Linked DNA regions of Homo sapiens: regions 1 and 3 are each linked to region 2. The links are contacts of gene promoters, found by promoter capture Hi-C in human tissues and cell types (Jung and others, 2019). All regions are on one chromosome and are shown on one strand. The core of a region is centred on a gene start or on the middle of the fragment in contact, and the rest is flanking DNA. Distances in the headings are between cores, read along the strand shown. Region 1 overlaps PRDM11 (PR/SET domain 11). Region 2 holds the start of SYT13 (synaptotagmin 13). Region 3 overlaps LOC105376652 (a long non-coding RNA gene).

The links. Contacts are between HindIII fragments. The study calls those that stand out against the background at their distance.
Region 1: a contact is called between a fragment that was not itself captured here and the fragment with the promoter of SYT13 in region 2, in 1 of the 25 tissues and cell types used here (dorsolateral prefrontal cortex).
Region 3: a contact is called between a fragment that was not itself captured here and the fragment with the promoter of SYT13 in region 2, in 1 of the 25 tissues and cell types used here (hippocampus).

What each region holds. Positions count from the first base shown.
Region 1 is chr11:45,153,799-45,156,954 of GRCh38, forward strand. The region is part of intron 1 of PRDM11 (PR/SET domain 11); the gene reads left to right. Among named protein-coding and RNA genes, the nearest start is that of PRDM11, 8.7 kb to the left of the region's middle. The HindIII fragment of the contact is 3,876 bases long and covers 1-3,156 here.
Region 2 is chr11:45,284,482-45,287,656 of GRCh38, forward strand. It overlaps SYT13 (synaptotagmin 13), which reads right to left and starts at 1,860. Exons shown (of 6, transcript NM_020826.3): 1 at 1,544-1,860. The coding sequence starts at 1,726. RefSeq lists an enhancer at 1,255-2,041. The HindIII fragment of the contact is 8,257 bases long and covers 1-3,175 here.
Region 3 is chr11:45,130,063-45,133,211 of GRCh38, forward strand. All of the region lies in intron 3 of LOC105376652 (a long non-coding RNA gene), which reads right to left. It also overlaps a transcript of PRDM11 not described here. Among named protein-coding and RNA genes, the nearest start is that of PRDM11, 15 kb to the right of the region's middle. The HindIII fragment of the contact is 4,739 bases long and covers 1-3,149 here.

The sequences.
Region 1 (3,156 bases), core at 611-3,110, 130 kb before region 2:
GTTATCTCTGGGGCAGTAAACACCTAGAAGGAACATGTATGGAGCACCAGGACACTGACAACAGCCCCGTGAGGTTACTCCCGCATCCACATATGGATGAGGAACCTTGGGGCTCAGAGAGGTTACATGACCAACTGAAGATCACACAGCTATCATCTCATTTTTCCAATCTTCTTAAGAAAACCACATTGATAAAGGAAGTCTTTGAGGTTGCCTATTTGTATTACATAATAATTCCCAGAAGGTTTCTTGGGTGATTTAAAAATAGGATTTGGGCTGGGCACAGTGGCTCATGCCTATAATCCCAGCACTTTGGGAGGCTGAGGTGGGAGGATCGCTTGAGTCCAGGAGTTTGAGACCAGCCTGGGCAACATAGTGAGACCCTGTATTTACAAAAAATGAACAAAATTACCTGGGCTTGGTGATGTGTGCCTGTAGTCCCAGCAACTTGGGAGGCTGAGGCGGGAAGATCACTGGACCCTGGGAGATCGAGGCTGTGATGAGCTGAGATCGCACCACTGTACTCCTGCCTGGGAGACAGAGTGAGACCCTGTCTCAAAAAATAATAAATCAATAAAAGTAGGATTTGATTTATAGAGTGTTGGTTTCAGACCTTCTCCCCATCCCAGGAACCTCACAGGTCAGAAGTTGCGGACACATTCAAACAGACCCGGAGCCTCCGCTGAAATGATACTGGGTACGGGAAGTGGAGTAGGGGTGGGGGCAGATAGCTGCTGCCCATCCTGCTCCCAAGCAGCAGCCTTAGATCAGGGGTTGGTGCTAGTGGTAGGGGGGTCCCTGCTTGCAAAGTGAGGCACCCCAGGCCTCTGGAGCCTTCAGTGCCTTCTAGAGCTTTCCCTTCCAGTCCTGTCTCCCCTACCTCATCCGATCCATAAGAGCAACCAGAACTCTCCTCCTCCCAACTGCACCTTCTCCCGATCCCTGATCACTAGCCCAGGCAGGTTGGCTCTTAAAACCCCCATTTTATAGCTCAGAAAACTGAGGCTCAGAGAGGGGAAGTGACTTAGAGCTCATACAGTTTAGGAAGTAACCAAGCTAACATTCTAACCCCAAATCTAGCACCCCTTCCTCTGCACCCCAGTCCTTCTGGAATCAGAGCAGAATGGGGACCCCAGAGAGTGTTGTTGTAGCCTCTGTACCCTGCTTCCCAAACAGAGAGATTGTCCAGCTACTGCAGGGAGTGTGGCTGGAAGGAGCTTGGGGTAGAAAGGGGGGTAGTGGCCGGTGGGCGCCTTCCCCCAGGCTTGTGTCAGAGTTGAGGGCGAGAGTGGGCCCAGCAGGCAGGAGGATCACTTTGACTAGGGCACTGAGCTGGGCTGGTATGGACGTCACTGAGCAAGTAAATATGGAACCGCCCCCACAATGTCAGCTTTCCCGGAGTGGCTTCTCCCACTATCTCTCACTTTCCCCAAGGGAAAGGGGTGAGGGCCAGGAAAGGATCTGGCTGCCCGATGCCAGGGGATGGAGATGGCCGGCTTGGGAGGCTCCACGATGGCCAAGGGGCATGGGGAGGAGCCCACCAGACCCTCAGCCCCAGAAGGAAGTGAGCTTCTCTTGGGAGCAGCCAACTGGGACCCAGCCAGGGCGGACTCAGCACCGTCATGGCCCAAGGTACAGAGAGGGCGGGCTCTGGGGGTTGCCGGGAGGTGGTTGGCTGGGGCTTGTCCCTGACCTCACAGCCCTTTACTGTTCCAACCCAAACAGAGTGTCATTTTCCCAGGGGCCAGGGGTGCCCCTCTTTAGGCCGGCTGTGTTCCAAGAGAAAGAAAGACCAGCCAGAGGGGGTTTGCATTTGGAGAGGGGGTGCAGGGGTGCCTCAAGGAGGGGTGGAGAGGGAGGAAGGAAAAGCCCCTTAGCCTGAGGGAGGCAGAGGGCAGGGAGGTGAAGTCCTCAAGGGAAATCAGCAAGCTTAGCAGCCAGGGAAACCGGCAGTCTCTCTTGACCCCAGAGAGGAGATATTGGGTCTCCAGAAGAGCAAGCAGAAAAGGAGGATCCAGGGCAGAGTGTCTGGCTGCCAGACCCTGGGCCTTTTATAAACATCAGCGACAGCCGAGCCCAAATGAGTGTGGACGGGCATGTTCCATTCAACCCTCATAGCTGTCCCATGATGCTAGTGTTATTAGGTGCAGTTTACAGAGGTAACATTGAGGCCCAGAGAAGTGAGGTGACTCACCTAAGGTCACACAGCTATGAAAGGCTGAGCCAGGATATGAACCTAGGTCTGTCTGATTCCAGAGTCTGAGCTCTTTATCACAGCATGGGACTGGCTTGCTGGGACTGCAGTGGGAGATAAGGTCAGCCATCCATGCTGGGCAGGAGTTTGGATGGCTAACTTACAGATTCCAAGTTCCTTCCCCTGAGATGATGGGCAGTGTAAAGAAAGTACAGCATATGAGCCACTGTGGCTCAGGCAGGTCACCCTCTCTGTGCCTTTATGCGGCCACTTGAAGAATGGGGATGCCTAGCATAAGGACCGGCCATGTTACAGCATTTTCAAACCTTCCCATCCATTGTCTGGGTCAGCAGATGTTCATGGAGCGGCCCCTTGTGCTCTGGGGTCCAGACGTACACACCTGACTCTTGATGGGCCCTGCACCAGGTTCCTCTTGGAACACTGGGAGCACAGTGGCTCTGCCAGGCAATGGAGACCGTGGTCCGCAGACCTCTGCCCATCCTGAGCTGTGCTGGATGGGTGTATGGTGAGAGACATGCAGACTTTGAGAGAAAGCCTTGAGAAACTTGTTTGGCAACTTGACATTGCCACATCATTTTTAATTTTATTTCACAAAAATATCTGTTGGCATCAGATTGGAAAACTTAAAAAGTAAAGAAGTCACTTCACCTCAAATTTCTTGAGCAGCTCTTGCCTGGGTCTTGGGATTGAAGGTAGGATGCGCCTGGCTTGCTCATGGATATGGGGCAGAGGAGAGCAAGTCATTTCGCCCTGGAGGTGGAGAGGGAGGATCTGGTTAGGCCTCCCAGAGGAGGTGACGATGAGCTGGACCTTGAGGGAGGAGCGGGGGTTTGCCAGGCGGAGGGAGAGGGAAGGGCATTTTAGGCACTGGGAACAGTATGTGCAAAGGCAGGAACAGGAGGACCCCATGGTTCAGGAATGGCAAGCGGTCATGGGTGTTT
Region 2 (3,175 bases), core at 610-3,109:
TCAGTGAGAAGTTGTGGAGGATTTGAAGCAGGGGAGAGACACAACCTGGTTTTTCTTTAACAGATGATCAGCCGTTCTGTGGGCTACTGGTCATCAATAAGACAAAGAGTTGGAAGAGACCCTAGAGGTCATTTACACCAACTAGTTTCCCAGTGGTTCTCTCTAGGAAGGGGAGGGGGCGGTGCCTGGAGAGACATCACTGAAAGGCAGAAGAGTGGCTGTTCCTCAAGTGTGTTGGGCAGGAAAGAAGGTTGAGAGGCGGCCGACCACGACTTGTGGAGAAGGACTCCCAACACCTGGCCAGTGGAAAGCCCACTATTCCCCTTTTCCAGATCGTCCCAAGTCCCACATTCTGCTGTGCAGCCGGCTCCTATTTAGCCACTGTCAATGTCACTGTTCTTGGATTATAAGTGCCTCAAGGACAGCAGCCATTTCCTTTCCACTCTCACTGTACAGTGACTGACACAGGCCCCACACAACTGGGTCCTCTGAGCTTTTGAATTATTGATTGGAAAAAGGAAGATGGAGTCACAGCATTTTAGTGCCACTCCTGGAACCATACAGTCTATAAGGGATCTAGAGGGCCTTTAGGAGGTCCTTTAAGTCATGCCCCTGCCCCAGGGCCATCCTTCCTCAAATCACTCTAGCAGGACTCTTTGCCTCCTGGTTCTCCAGAGAACATTCTGCATTCTGTACTTTGGAAATGCATCCTGGAGGTCACAGCCTATGCAGGGAAATCCTTCCAAACTGCTTCCCCAGACCCCTTCTGCTGCTCTTTACAATGGGAGCACGGGCTATTTCCTGCACGAAGGGGCTCTGGCCATGAGCAAATGCATGGGATAAAAGCCCTCCTGTCTCCAGGGACGTCTGCAGAGACATCTTGGGGGAGGCCATACCAACCCCCTCTGACTGGCTGGAGCTCAGAGCTGCTAGGGGGTGGGGAAGAGTCCTTCAGGTTCCTCCCGGATTCAGCTCTCTAGACCCCGCTAGCTAGCTTCCCAGCTCCTGCGGGACCGCGGCCACCTCCCCTCTGGCTTTGCAGGCATTACCTCTTCTCAGCTCTGGCAGGACTTGCCCTACCCTGGCTCCACAACCACCACCCATCTCCCTCTCACAGACCCCAGTCTTCTTCCCAATTCTGCAAACTCCTCATTCTCTGGTACCTCTCAGGGTCTTCCCTAACCCTGGCGATTCCCCTCCCAGCCTCCCTCTCCTCTTACCCTTCCCAGCCCTAATTCTTATCCAGGTCCCCTTTCCTGTCCCCTCCCTTTAGGTCTCGCTGCTGGCCCCCATTCTTCTCTCAGTCCCCACAAGCTCGCCGCTCCCTAATTCTCCTTCAGGTCTCGTCTCCCCCATCCCCTAGCCTCCCCCATCCCCCTACCTTTTTGACTCCTTGACCTGTCCTCCAACGCGTCTGCTGTCCCCTCCCCGCCAAGCTTTGTCGCGCAAAGATCCACGACCGCCTCCCACCCCAGTTCCCCCTCTGCAGCTGCCCGGCAACCCCGCCTTGCCCGGGAAGGGCCTGCGCGCCGCCCCCGCTCACCTGTTGTGCAGACCCGAGCAAGCTGGGCTTCGCCTTCTCCAGGTCGGGGTCCTGGTCCCGCGGCAGCAGCCCCTTCTTGGGGTGCATGTGCCGACACAGGCAGGTGACCCCGCACAACGCGAGGATGCTGGTGGCTGTGCCCAGCGTGGCGCCCAGCGCGATCACAGGCACCGACAGCACCATGGTGCCCGCTCCCGGCGAGGGGCTGGGTCCCGCAGCCGCTCACCTTCCCCGGGCCGGGCCCGCCTCCAGGCAGCTCCCGGGATCCGGGCGAGCCAGCAGCTCTCCCGCCGCCAGAGGGGCGGGGACGGAGGGAGGGAGGACGGCTGCGAGGACGTCAGAGGAGGCTGGACCCGCAGCCACGTCAACCGGCAACCCCCTCCCCGCCAACACGTGACCGGACCCCCACCCCAACAGGAGCCGGAGCCTTCCAGGTGGAAGGAGCCTTGGGGTTGTTTCAGGCCATTCTTAATGCTTTGTGTACAACAGGGGACAACTGGGCCCAAGAAGTGCTGGAGCTTGCGGAGGTCACACTGTGTTAGAGGACAAACCTGGGCTCCAACCAGATCTGCGACTCTAGGAGTCACTTTCCCAGACTACTAGCTCCTTGCTCACCCTTCTACCCCAGCAGCTGGCCAAGCTGGCTGTAAAATTGGGTCTTCCGGGAGCTTTTTCAAACACAAAGCTGGAGATTTCCCAGCTCCCCAACCTGGGAGATGGTTCTTACAGGGAAGAGGAACAGGCCACAGGTAGAGGGAACAGATGGGATGTTTGGGTTGAGGCTGTACCTGTGTCCTGCTGAAGATGGACAATACAGCTGCATCCCCTTAAGGGTTGCCCAAGAGTTCACCTTTATTACCTAATCAGCAGGTATTCGCACCTTTATATATAGTTGAGGAAGCCGAGGCTCAGAAGAGAGGTGCACAGGTAGAAAAATCATCACCCTGAACCCAAGCTTATGTTTGCAGATTCCAAGTCCACACTCAAACGGACTTGTCTTAGGAGGATAAAGAAGATAAAATGCAGCAGCTAGGAGTACACACTTGATTCAGAGAGGGTGAGCATAAAACTATGCTTAGAACAAGGGGAAATTAGAATTCCGGGCATGAGGACTGTCTTAGCTCAAGAAAACAGTGGCTTTTTAGTGTTCTTCATTATATGGAGTGTTGAATTTAATTCAGCAGATATTTGCTGTGGGTTGGCTGTGCTCTAGGTGTGCTGGGCATGTGTGAAAAGGGATGTAGGTGATTTCATCCACAACAGAGCTTTCACATTTCTATGAGCCAATGTCTCCTAAATCTATAGCCTCTCCAGCCAGACCTTTTCCTCTGAGCTGTAGCTGTGACCACCACCTGGGAACCCACCCGTCCTCCAGTTTTTCAGCTATCTACACTTGCATAAAAACCCACCGATGACTTACTGGCTTAGACCAGTTATTGTGTTACTTGTCATGATTTCATGGGTTGGCTGGGCTCAGTTGGGTGGTTTTCCTGCTCAACATGTTGTCTTCTGGGACTGCAGTCATCTAGGGGTTCAGCTGGACTGGGACATCAGCTCTCCAGACACCATTGCAGATGGTGCAATGGTGAACTCACGTGGTGAGCAGTAGGTGCTGGCTGCCACTGGGATCAC
Region 3 (3,149 bases), core at 448-2,947, 150 kb before region 2:
GATCAATTGGATATTCATATGGGAAAAAAATGAAGCTTGATCCCTACCTCACACCAAAATTAATTTGAAATGGATTCTAGATCTACATGTGAAAAACAAAACAATAAAGCTTCCAAAAGAAAATACAGAATCATATCATTATGATATTGGGATAGTTAAAAAGTTGTTAGAACACCAAAGCCATTACCCATAAAATAGGCCTCATTAAAATTAAGAACTTCTGTTCATTAAAAGACATCAGGAGCGTGAAAAGGCAAAATATACACTGGGATAAGATATTGGCAATACATATATCTGAGAAATCAATAAAACAAAAAACAATTAAACTTTGGGCATAAAACTTAAGCACTTCACAAGAAAGGATATTCAAATGGCCAATCAACACATGAGAAGGTGTTCAACATTATCACTCATCAGGAAAAAGTCAATTGAAACCACAATGAACATCACTACAAACTTTCTAGAATGAGTAAAAAGAAAAAGATTGTGAATATTAAGTGTTGGCAAGAACGTGGCACACCTGGAACTCACTCATGTATTGTTTTTGAGAGTGTAAATTGATACAATTACTTTGGAGAACTGTTTGGAAATTTCGTATTAAGTGTACACCAAATTTTGATATTTACAGCTAAAAGCATTCTAACTGTTGCAAATAGGGTCATATTGCTTATATTATTTTGAGCATGTGCTTTCATTTTACAATATACCATGAACATTTTCATCCGTCAATAACTTTTTCCATAATAGGATTTTTAATGGCTGCACTGTATTCAACGTGTTATGAGACGTTTAGGTGTTGCCAGTTTGAATTAAAAATTTAAGCAATTTGAATTGTAGGTAACTACCCAAGATACATTAGAGTACACATGTCCATCAAAAAAGCATGTATGAAACTTTACAGCAGCTTTGTTTAAAATAGCCAAGAGTTAGACACAACTCAAATGTCCATCAACAGTAAAATGGATCATTGGTATAGTCATATAATGGGGATACCACACAGCAAAAAATGGAACAAACCTACTATTCTCAACAACATGAATGAATCACACAGATACAATGATGAGCACAAGGAGTAGGTGTAAAAGTCAACATACATGTAATTTCATTTATGTGAAGTTCAAGAATTGGCAAAACTCACTTGTGGTGATAGAATCTGAGTAATGGTTACTTCTGTGGGTACTGGCTGGGTGGAGGAACAAATGATTCCCCCATGACTCGAAATGCTCTGTTTCTTGATTTGGGTGTTGGTTATATGAGGGTTTTCAGGTTGTGAGAATTAAGCATGATTTGTGTAATTTTCTGTATATACGTTATACTTCAATGCAAAGTTAAAAATAGAATGCTAACAAGGAAAGCTGGTAACAATGGCAGATTACAAATCAATGCAAAGTTTTGGAGGGAAATTTAAGGAAAAGCCTTGATAATATATACAACCATTACCCAATATTTTGTTTCTAGAAAATTACCCCTGAAACCAAACAAATATGCAAAGATTTGTGCAGGGTGTTGTCACACCATTATGTATAATGGCAAAAACTGGCAACACCTAAATGTCTCACAACATGTTGAATACAGTGCAGCCATTCAAAATCCTATTACAGGAGTAAGTTATTGACTTTTGAAAATGTTCATGGTATATTATGAAATGAAAGAGCATGCTCAAAATAATACAAGCAATATGATCCTATTTGCAACAGTTAGAATGCTTTTAGCTGCAAATAATGAAATACCTTTCTAAAATAAGGGCAGATTATTATCTCAAATAACAGGAGTCCAAAGATAGGGCAATTTCAGGGTTGGCTAATGAAGTTGCTCAAAAATGTTATCCGGGATCTAGATTTTTTCTTTGGTGTTGGTTTTTGTTTTCAGCCTAGTTCTTCCTTGCTTGCTGGATGGCTGCAGCAGTTCCCTGAATCTCCACCTTATAGAGCCAAGCTGAGCAACAGAAAGAGGACCATCATCTTCTGTGGACCTCTAAGAGCAAGGAAAACATTCCCTCAAAGTCATTCTTGTGCATCTCACTGGCCAGAACTGTATCACATGTCCAATGTCTAAACTATTCACAGAAAAGGGAAATGGGATCACTGTCATTATCTTAAACCAATCATGATTGGATTCCCTGGAGCTGCGCTGTGCAGGGGGTCATTTTCCCTGAGCCCATGACAACAAGGAGCTTGAACACTTCTACAAAACAAGAGCTTTGCCAGCCAAGAAGAAGTGAGCAGAAGTGAAGACAGACTGCCACTGAATAGGCAACCCACAGTGTTCACCCCATCAAATACATACCAAAAAGGCATAAACCAAGCTCTGAACTTGCTCATAACCCTCACCTCTGGGTAGTAAAACTGTGGTTGATTTATTTTAGTGTTTTGCTCATGGTTTTTGTCACTGGACATGTATTATGTTATAATAAAAAAGTCTTAAATGTTATTTTTAAAACAATAATTTAAAAATAAAAGGGAGCTTGCAGATCATTAAGCACATCCCCAGCACTTTGCAAATTGAAAAGACATGTTCCTGAAAGGTAGAGTAATGCTTATGAAGCCACAGTCATTTCCTTTCTACTTCTGTTTCCATTCTGTTCCTCCATCCTTTCACAATCTGCCTCTGAGCTACTCAAAGTCTGACTTCAAAGTGATGCTGGATGGAAGGGACCTCTAAGGACATCGAAGTCAACCTCTTACAGGAAACCCAGAATGACAGCAGCTTACTCAAGGTCACCCAGCTACCTAGGGAGAAGACCCAAAGATAGTGATTGGCGCTTTAGAAATCCTCTGATGAGTATACTTCTCCAATTCCTAAAGCCAGCCCAGGGACAGCAAAGATTGAGCAAAACCCAGGAAAATACTGATGGCTCAGCCATCTTGCTGTGGAAAGAGGAGCAACACCCTGCTTAAGAATGTGCCACACATACCCCATCCCCATCCCCATCCCCAAATTAAAGTAAAAGTCCTCTTTCTGGTGTTACCTCTCTGCTGTTAACCTTGCCTTCTCTGCCAGCTGCATTCCCATAAGCTGGAAACACATCCAATTTTCTCCCAACCTTTAAACAATAAAAATATTTAACTCTGCCTTCTCTTTCTAACACTTTTCATCCAAATAGCTCAAAAAGATAATCTGTGCTTTCTTTTTCTAATTCCTTACCTCTC